Regions from separate parts of the Homo sapiens genome. Here region 2 is linked to region 1. The links are contacts of gene promoters, found by promoter capture Hi-C in human tissues and cell types (Jung and others, 2019). All regions are on one chromosome and are shown on one strand. The core of a region is centred on a gene start or on the middle of the fragment in contact, and the rest is flanking DNA. Distances in the headings are between cores, read along the strand shown. Region 1 holds the start of PCIF1 (phosphorylated CTD interacting factor 1). Region 2 overlaps SDC4 (syndecan 4).

Region 1 (4,949 bases), core at 2,450-4,949:
AAAAAAAAAAAAACTAGTCGGGCATGGTGGCGGGCACCTGTAATCTCAGCTACTCGGGAGGCTGAGGCAGAAGAATCACTTGAACCTGGGAGGCAGAGGTTGCAGTGAACCGAGATCGCGCCACTGCACGCTAGCCTGGGCGACAGAGCAAGACTCCTTTTCAAAAAACAAAACAAAATTGGGCTGTGTGTGGTGGCTCATGCCTGTAATCCCAGCACTTTGGAAGGCTGAAGCAGGAGGATTGCTTAAGGCAAGGAGTTCAAGGTTACAATGAGCTATGAGTGCACATCAGTCTGGGAGATAGACTGAGACTCTGCTTCTAAAAAAAAGGGGGGTAGGGGTGGGAAACGCCAGCTCTTAAGGTAGTCATTAGAATGGTGAGAAGAGGTTGGGTTTTGTTTTGTTTGAGACGGAGTTTTGCTCCTGTCACCTAGGCTAGAGTGCAATGGTGTGATTTCGGCTCATTGCAACCTCTTCCTCCCGGGTTCAAGCGATTCTCCTGCCTCAGCCTCCTGAGTAGCTGGAATTACAGGCGCTTGCCACCATGCCCAGCTAATTTTTGTATTTTTAGTACAGATGGGCTTTCACCCTGTTGGCCAGGCTGGTCTCAAACTGCTGACCTCAGGTGATCCACCCGCTTTGGCCTCCCAAAGTGCTGGGATTACAGGCGTGAGCCACCGCACCCAGCTGAGAAGAGGCTGGTTTTGACATGCGGAAAGTGAGCAAACGGAGAAGATGAGGCATGTATCAGGTGAAAAGCAGTGCTGAACACTGTGAGATAGAGAAACCTTTAAGATACTTAACTATCCAGGCCGGAGGCGGTGGCTCACGTCTGTAATCCCAGCACTTTGGGAAGCCGAGGTGGGCGGATCACCTGAGGTGGGAAGTTCGAGACCAGCCTGACCAACAGGGAGAAACCCCGTCTCTACTAAAAATACAAAATTAGCCGGGCGTGGTGGCGCATGCCTGTAACACCAGCTACTCAGGAGGCTGAGGCAGGAGAATCGCCTGAACCCTAGAGGCGGAGGTTGCAGTGAGCCGATATTGCACCACTGCACTCCAGCCTGGGCAACAAGAGCGAAACTCCGTCTCAAAAAAAAAAAAAAAAAAAAAGATTGAACTATCCAGGGCCACTGTGTCCACTCAGACCAGTCACATCGCCTGAATCTAGATCCCTTCTTCACAAAACAGGGAGGCCAGAGTGGTTTAATGGAACCAGCCCTGCATTTTGGTGTTGAGAACTCCGGGCTTAAAATCCCAGTTTTGTTACTTGTTGATGGCTGTGTGAACCTGGACAATGACTTCGCCCCTGCCCCTCGCTCCAACCTGTTTGCTCATGTGCAGATTTAGGTAATAATTCACAGAATTCCATGATAAAACAGAAGACTAGGCACTTGGGATGTTTGGTATCTTGGTTATCAATTAAGAGAATCTGAACAATGAATGAGAAAATACTTTGAAAACATAAAAGAATAGATAAAAGGCCGGGCGCGGTGGCTCACGCCTGTAATCCCAGCACTTTGGGGGGCCGAGGCGGGCGGATCATGAGGTCAGGAGTTTGAGACCAGCCTGGCCAACATCGTGAAACACCGTCTCTACTAAAAATACAAATAAAATTAGGTGGGAGTGGTGGCGGGTGCCTATAATCCCAGCTACTTGGGAGGCTGAGGCAGGAGAATTGCTTGAACCCGGGAGGCAGAGGTTGTAGTGAGCCGAGATCGCGCCACTGCAATCCAGCCCGGGCGACAGTGCGAGATTTCGTCTCAAAAAAAAAAAAGGGTAATAATCACTACATGGTTTTTAAACTTTAGTGAAAGCGCGGGCTAGCTGGGGGGCATGAGCATGGAAAACTGGTTATCCCGTAGGTCAAGAGCGACCACGTAGTTTACTGCCCAAAGCAGTACTTTTTTTTGAGACAGGAGTCTCACTCTGTCGCCCAGGCTGGAGTGCAGTGGCGCGATCTCGACTCACTGCAACCTCTGCCTCCCGGGATCATGTGATTCTCCTGCCTCAGCCTCCCGAGTAGCTGGGATTACAGGCGCGCGCCACCAGGCCTGGCTCATGTTTGTAATTTTAGTAGAGACGGGGTTTCGCCGTGTTGGCCAGGCTGGTCTTGAATTCCTGACCTCAGGTGGTCCACCTGCGTCGGCCTCCCAAAGTGCTGGGATTACCGGGGTGAGCCACCACGCCCGGCCCAAAGCAGGGCACTTCTGAAAAAGGAGGCAATATTAGTAATTATGCCAGGGCAGCAGGCATAAATCAAAGCTGGCCCCCCACCCTTCCAGAACTGAGACAGGACCCAGGAGTCTGGTTTCCCATCAGGCCTCTTATCTGAACGAGAAGCTCTGCGAGGGCAGAACTGCTGTGCCTATATAGAGCTGGCTTATTTCTGGAGGGCTCAAATCTACTTGGAGCAATGCTCATGCCACTGTGAGATGATCACGGCTAACCGATTCAGCACTTAGGAAGCGCCAGGTATTGCGCTGAGGACTTCACATGCATCACCTGAGTTAATTCTCACCAAACCTTTATGAGGTAGGCGGATTTATTATCTTCCACTGAGGAAACTAAAATTTAAATTGGTTAACTCCTTCAAGGCCACACATTTTGGGTGGAGGAGCAGGGATTGAAATCAGATGAGGATCATGAACCCTCGTTCTCAATTACTACTCATATCGGTGCCTCCGTTTTTCTTGAGCGTCCGCCTGCCTGCCCCCACGCTGGCGTGCAGCCAGGACCATGGACATCTGAGAGGCTACTCAGCCGGGGTACCTACAGCCCCTGGCTCCACACAAGCGCCGGTCTGACAGCAGGTGGCAAGCTTTTCCTCTTCTCAAGCTAGCACTGGAAGGGATGCTTGCTGGGGAGACCGGAGATGGGTGGAGCTACCACTCGGACGCCTGCAGGCTCCTACCAAAAAGAATCCTGCAGGGAGCCGGATGAGGAGCACCTCACAGCTGCCAGTTCCCTGCCAGGCTACCCGCTGTAGCTGGTTTGAGGGCTCAGTGAGGCTTTGAACTGCAACTAATGGCCACAGATGTCAATGTTGGAAAGGCCCTACAATGCATTTAGTTGATTTCCCAACTCTGCCGAAAGCCATCTCTATTACTTGCCCCCGAAGGCTAGTTTAAGTTGCTTCTACTCAAGAGCATTTACAGCTTGGGTTCGATGTATATGTAGCCCGGGCATGGGGCAGGGCTTCTTAACATTTGGACACCACGCAGCACAAAGGCCCAGAGAGGGAAAGAGACTGGCTGGAAGAGGCAGAGCCGCGCGGGTGCCAGGACCCAGGTCCTTGCTACGTCCGGAGCCTACGTCACCACGATGCCTCCCCTGGGCCGGCGGCAGAACCCGAGACCCCCGCAGGTTCTAAGACAGCCCCCACGCCCCCCAGTGCGCACGCTCAGTCCAACCCCGCCGCGCACCGCCCACCGCGAACATCCGGCTCCTGCGTGTGTGCTCGAGGGGGAAACTGAGGCGGGGACGTGCCAGTGAATTCATTCCTTCCTCAGTCCACCCGCAGGCCTACAAAGCTGTCTCCCCTTCCTCAGCGCCACAAGGAACAGCAGGGACGGATGGGAAGAAGGGGAGGGGGCCGAAAGCAAGCTGGGTGCGAGGAGCCAGCCGACCCTGCCACACTCAAGATGGCGGCGCGGCCGCGGCGAGGTCCCTCAGAGGCGGTACCAGCGCATGCGCAGCGCGGAGTCCCGGCCCGGGACACAAGATGGCGGCAGCGGCGCTGGGGAGGGCGAGGCGGAGGCGGCAAAACGGGCGGTCGAGCAGAACGTGTAGCCGCGTCCCCTCCAGTCCGCTCCGGGCAGGTAAGAGTCCCAGGAAGCCATGGTCCCGCAGCGAGCCGCGCCAGGGTCTGGGGATCCGAAGCTGGGGGGCGGCGGCCCCTCCGGCGCTTTCTGCTCGGGACTGCCGCTTGCCCTGTCTCTGTTGCCGCCGCCATCTTAGACCCGCGGGTGGGCGGCCGCGCCGGTGGCCGAAGTGAGGGAGGTGGGCCCGGAGAGCCCCAGCGGAGCGGGCTCTAGGGCCCCTCCGCTGCTGCCGCCGCCACCGCCTTTGTGTCGGGCTCCGACTCTGAGTCGCCTCAGCCCGGGGGCGGGAGCGCGCGGCGGGGCGGGGGGCGGAGCCCGAGAGATGGGCCGGCGCGCGCGCGCGCGCCAAACAGCCCACCCTCGCTGGGGTAGGGGGAGGGGAAGGTGCGCGCGCGCGCGCGCGCTGGAGCTCGCCTCTCGCCTTCGTGCGCCGTCGCGCCTGCGTACTTTGTTCGCCCTTTGACTCCTCCCTACTGGGCCGGAGAATTCTGATTGGTACATTGCGGAGATGGTCCCGCCCCACGTGCCTCCAATCCCGGACTCGGACTCTGGCTTCTGGTGGGTTTTTCTGGTTGCGCAGATAGAGTTGTTTATCCTTGAGCAGCGGTAATTCTCAAACTGCGGTATGCGTGGGGGTCGGGAAGCCACAGGATAAATAAAGACGTTAACTTAAGAGCAGTTATGTCTTACTGGGAGCGTACAATGCTGGACTCTACATATAACGGTCGAGTGATTCCGGTTTATAAGCCGGAAAGCAGAAGGGCCCGGAATCCGGGTCTGTCCAACCCAGGGGCTGGTACTTCGGCCACAGACCTGCTGCGCTCAAGTCACATAGGAAATTAAAAATGGTTTTAATTGCAAAAAATGGGTACATTTTTTCAAATAGTGTGAAAAAATGAGTCATCCTGTCTCCCAGTCACTCTTACGGTGCGTTTTAAAAATACAAATTCTTGTGTGCCTCACCTCCGTATTTATTTCTGGCTTCTGAGATGCGCAGTGAGGCACAGGAGTCTGATTTTTTTTTTTTTTTTACAAACTCCAAGATGATTCTGATGCACAGCTGGCTTTGGAAATACTGCAGTGTCCCCATTTAGCCTCACACTAAGCTGTGCCGCTTGTGCGTAT
Region 2 (4,949 bases), core at 1,059-3,558, 590 kb before region 1:
GGTGAGTACCTGGGGCTCCAACACCTGGACCCACCAGAATGATTTCTAGCAGGAGACCCCCAGCAGCGTACACTACTCGTAACTGTTCTTCCCCACCCCACCCACTTCTTAAGGGCCAGACATTCCCCAGAATGGCTAAAACCTGGGGCCCACAACTGTGACTCTACCACCCAGAGTGGTTGTGCATCAAGGCAGATTCACAAGTGTGAGTTCTGCCACTTCCTAACTATATGAGCTTGGGAGTTTATTTCATCTCTGAAATCCTCAGTTTCCTCTTTTGTGACTAGGGCTGGTAGCACCTTGCAGGGTGATGAGGATTAAGAGGAATGCATTTGTGTGTGCAAGGGACCCAGCACGTGATCAATGAATAGTGGCTGTGATTAACCCCTACCTGCCTTCCTCCTGGCCAGTGGGATCAGTGCTCAAAGGATCAGAGGCCTGGGAAAACTTGCAGAGGCAGTTCTGTTGCTGGAAGGAAGCTAGCCTGGGGACAGGGAGATGGTGCTTTGCAAACTGTAAAGGAATATAATCTATAATAGGTTATCATTTTGCTTCTGAGCCCAGAGACTTTTCAACAACCAATCAGGTCCCTTCAGACTGTGAAAAAAAGATACAGAGATAGTCAGAGACCTGCCCAAGGTCACACAGCTTTGACCACCTGTCCTAAGCAGACAGAGGTAAAGACCATTTTTATTTTCCCCGAAGGTGCAAATGACAGTGACCAGAAACACCTGAAATTCTACTTGGGGACCTGGGTCCCCAGGGACAAAATAAATAAATAAAAATCTAGAAGGTAAAAAGAAACTACACACCAATCCATGGTCTGGTGCTCTGGTGCCTGAATGGTTAAACCAGGTCTGGGGGTGGGGGTGGAGTGAGGGTTCAAATGTCGCCTTCAAGGTCGGGTTACTCTGAACACAATCACTCAGGAGAGAGCCAGGCCTGGCACTGCCTGCAACCAGCTTTTCACCAAGCCTCAGGGCAGCCCATTCCCACAGCAAGAACTCCAGGATCCTAGGGTGCCAGCTAGAAATGGGGGAAGGGTTCAGGAGCCTCTGGATGTCTCCCTGCCAGGAGCTGACCCAGCACCCTTGTTACTAACTCCCTGGATGATCGTGGACAATTCCCTTCTCTGAGCCTCAGTTTTCCAATCTGTAAAAGACAGGTCTCAAAGAGACAAGCCTCCCTCTGTCCCAGCCCAGTAACCAAGCTGGGCATTGCTCCGATTACCGGTGGAGACAGCCAGGAGGGGGCTGGCTCCCTCAGGGCCTCAGAGACAGAGGTGCATTGAAGTTGGAGCTTGTAATCTAGGCAGCAGATCCGAAATCCCTGCTGGATCCGAGGGCTAGGGAGGCTCTCGGGATGTAAACAAACCTCCTGTGTTCTCAGAGCAGAGTAGAGAGCCCACGCTGCAGCCTTATCTCAGCTGATTAGATCAGCCCTGGGTGCTGGCTTCCTGCCTCTTCCCAGCCTCCCTCACCGACCCCCAAGGAAGCCATCCTCCAGACCAGGTCAGTCTGTCCCACAGACGGCTCCGGCAGGGCTTCTCCAAGGCAAGGAGTATCCCCACTCTGGGTAGCCGGGCCAGCCATGTGCCACATCTGCCCCCACGCCCAGAGGCTAGAGTGACACCGCCAGTCCCCGCAGGCCTGGCCACTGACTGCTGGGCTTCACCAAGTCACTGTTTCCACACATACCAGCCTCTCCCTGCCTCCCCTTTCCATTACCCCAGGTGTCACCTGACCAGCAGCCTCTTCTACTGTGCCAGAGAAAACTGGAGCAGCCGAGCTCCCGGGCCTGGAGGACAGGGGGAGGGGTGAGATGCAGCCTGAAGGGGTGGGGGCCGCTGAATAGGAAGGTCTGGGCTGAAGGTGGGGGTTGGGGGAAGCAGGAGGCAAGAACAAGGCTGGGAAGTGGGGGAGGGAGGAAGGATGGCTGTAGAAAGGTCAAAGCCAGAAAGAACTGCTGAGATCAGAGTGACCTTTTGGGGAGTACTGCAGCCCCCTGAAAAGGATAAAAAGGTCTAAACCCCAATAACTGTAACTCTTAGTTTACATTTTCAACATATGCACAGACACCACCTCCCCAAAGCCAAACTCTGGCCGGGTTAAGAACCCTCGTCTAGGTGCTAATAAAGCCAGAACTTTACAAGTTTGCCAAACAGCGATGATGACCTTTGAGTGCCACAGGTGTTTTATAGAGGACACTGGAGTTCACATCAACAAAGTGACGTATTAACTGTGTGTGTCCCTGGGTGAGCAGCAGAGCTAGGACGGGGGCTGGAGTTTTCTGTACCCTCTTTTTCAGTCACCCAGCCTTCAGCAGATGGGACCAGAGAGGCCCCAGTGAGATGCAAGAATGTGCCCAAGGTCACCACTGTGTTAGTTAATGACAAACAAGCCCAAGAAGTCAGGCTTATTCTTCTAAGGTTAAATGAGACCCCAACTGTTGACATATGTGTTCTCTCTCCTCCCTCTCTAGGGCACCATGCAGTGAAAACATACGAGAAACTGGCTTTTCAGAACACTGTACCTTTTCTGTCCACCAACACCCCACCCCTCAAAGTGCTATTTGCAATCACTCAGCCTCCTTAAGGGTAGAAACTCTGCCCCTCCAGCACAGGAGGGTGACCCCAGGTCCTGGACAGTGTCCAGAGTGGTCTGATACCCTTGGCAAACCCCCTGCCCCCTCTCCCTCCAGGCTGCAAACTGTTCAGCATGAGGCTCCAGCAAATCCCAGCAGGAGAGGTGGGGCTGCCCAGAACTGGTTCTTGTTTAAACATAAACCCATTCGATAATTAGCAAACAGCCCACTTCTAAGATAAACAAATAGGAGATTTGGACTCCAAAAGCCCCACCCTAGATTTCTCCCTTCCCACCTCCCAGCTGTGGGGGTAGATAAGGGGGATAAGGGGGATGGAGAAAGCTTTCCAGGAGACCTGGGCTCAGAATCTTCAGAGATAGGACCCCCTGGCATGAAGGTGGCCTGGGCAAGGAAGGGAACTGTCACTAAGTAACACCTCCTCCCTACCAGGCATGGTACTAGGTGCCTTTATTTACAGCCCTGTCGTCTCCTTTAAGCTTCGCCACACCGGTATCATGATCTTCTTAACAGACCAGGAGGCTGGGGCTCAGAGGTGGAGTAGCATGACTGAATTCATGTAGCCAGTAAGAGGTGGACTTCGCACGTCTGGAGTTAAGTCTGTGTAACACCAAGCCAATGTTTCAATGCCCTCTGGCCAGCCCCAGGAAGCAAAGAGGAGTCCTCACAAACATCAGAAAATCCTGGGGTCACACCAAACCTGAACAGTACCAGCTTTTGCTCTCTGAAAAAATGCAGGCCAGTTGCAGCCTCAGTTTTGCCTTAAAGAGGAAAAAAGTACTACCTGCTCTGCAGAGGTCTAAAGCCCAATTTTGAGGACTGGCTGCACAATGTACAATGTCAAAGTCTACATGCAGGCAAGGGGCTGTGAAAGTGCGGGACCTAGTACAAACATGTCCTGTATGTCCCCTCGAGCCCCGGACACTGAAACAGTGACTCCCAAAGGACAAGGTAAAACTCTGAGCTCATTCCAACACCCCCACCACAGAGCTGTCCTATTAGCCAAGAGTTTGAAAGGAAATGGGTGACTCAGGCAGGCTACGCTAGCATGCAGTGACTCACAGCGCTCGGTCCAGCCCCTTACCCCAATTTTAAGCATTCATTTGGAAATCACACTCGCCTGTCCAGTCCGGGAGGTTGAAGGACAGCTAGGAGCCAACTTCTCCCAACAGGGAGATGGGGCTGGGAGCCCAGCCTGGCTTCCCCAGCTCCTCATTCAGGCAGGCTCAGCACTCCAAGTCCTTGGAAAAGCCCTCTGTTTCTAGGAGCTGGGGATGGCAGGAGCTGAATGTCCCCCCGCCACCCCAACTTCTCTTCTGAGACTGGGATTTGTTTAGACTCTTCACCAAGGAGGCCAGCAAAGGGCCCCTCCCCTCATCAATGGGCTCTCTGGGCAGGAAGGACCCTTGGAAGGCAATGGTCCAGCCTCCTTATTTTAGAGTTGGGGACACTGAGACCCAGAGACAGGGCATGTTTGCTCAAGGTCACCCAGCAACGCAGAAGTAGGACCTAAGGTATCTACCTTCAAACCCAGCAAATTTCCTCATCTGGAATATTCTGAGGACACTCAAACCAGACACCTTGCCCTATCAGAAGGACCTGGTTCTGACCTTAGGAAGCCACTGCATTGTTCCGAGCATCAATTTCCTGTAAAAATAGAGAAAATGGTACCTCGCAGTACTGGGAGATACTCATACTAGCAATAAATAACAGTAATGAACCATTTAGAATAAAGTTACATGCACGAATTTATTCATTCATACAAGCATTTCCTGAGTACAAACTAGGGGACAGGTATTTCACAAAAACAAATAGAGCAGAGTTCCTGCCCTCAGTGTGCGGGGGGAGAGAGGGAGGGATTCAGCATTTGGTGGAGTATGTTAATTCCCTCAAGTTAATTCCTTCAAGAGAGAGACCTCTTTTGAATAGTAGGTACTTAAGTTATTAATCAAATTGAGAGATGGAAAGGACTCTGGAGGCTACCCTGTTCAAACCTTTCATTTTAAGGTGGGGGATGTCAGCCCAGCGGGGAAAGAGGCCTCCCCCCAACCTCATGGAACCCTCCAAATCATGGCCCAAATATTTTCGTGGGTGTTTGATAACTCCCTGGGCTCAAGAAGTCCCAAGAGCTCTCACTGTTCACTCAAGGGTCCTAGAAGCCCCTAGGCTTCCGCCCCCACCCCTACTCCCATGTAATCAAGAAGAGGACGCTGTAGAAGACCAGAAATGTCCTTAAGCTAAAGTACACTTGATAGGTGATAGGTGGGGGACACTTCCCCACAACCGCCTGGGCCCGGGGCCAAGTCAGTAGGCTGTGCCCCTGGGTAGGAACACCTTTGGGTGGAGGG

Evidence for each region. Contacts are between HindIII fragments. The study calls those that stand out against the background at their distance.
Region 2: a contact is called between a fragment that was not itself captured here and the fragment with the promoter of PCIF1 in region 1, in 1 of the 25 tissues and cell types used here (H1 embryonic stem cells).

The regions. Positions count from the first base shown.
Region 1 is chr20:45,930,984-45,935,932 of GRCh38, forward strand. PCIF1 (phosphorylated CTD interacting factor 1) reads left to right here and starts at 3,700. Exons shown (of 17, transcript NM_022104.4): 1 at 3,700-3,821. It overlaps LOC107985388 (pre-mRNA-splicing factor cwc22-like), which reads right to left and starts at 4,088. Exons shown (of 1, transcript NR_171669.1): 1 at 2,511-4,088. RefSeq lists enhancers at 1,626-2,318, 2,601-2,750, 3,010-3,701, 3,702-4,392 and a silencer at 4,021-4,230. The HindIII fragment of the contact is 7,503 bases long and covers 1-4,949 here.
Region 2 is chr20:45,340,784-45,345,732 of GRCh38, forward strand. All of the region lies in intron 1 of SDC4 (syndecan 4), which reads right to left. Among named protein-coding and RNA genes, the nearest start is that of SDC4, 5.2 kb to the right of the region's middle. RefSeq lists an enhancer at 1,650-2,544. The HindIII fragment of the contact is 7,626 bases long and covers 1-4,949 here.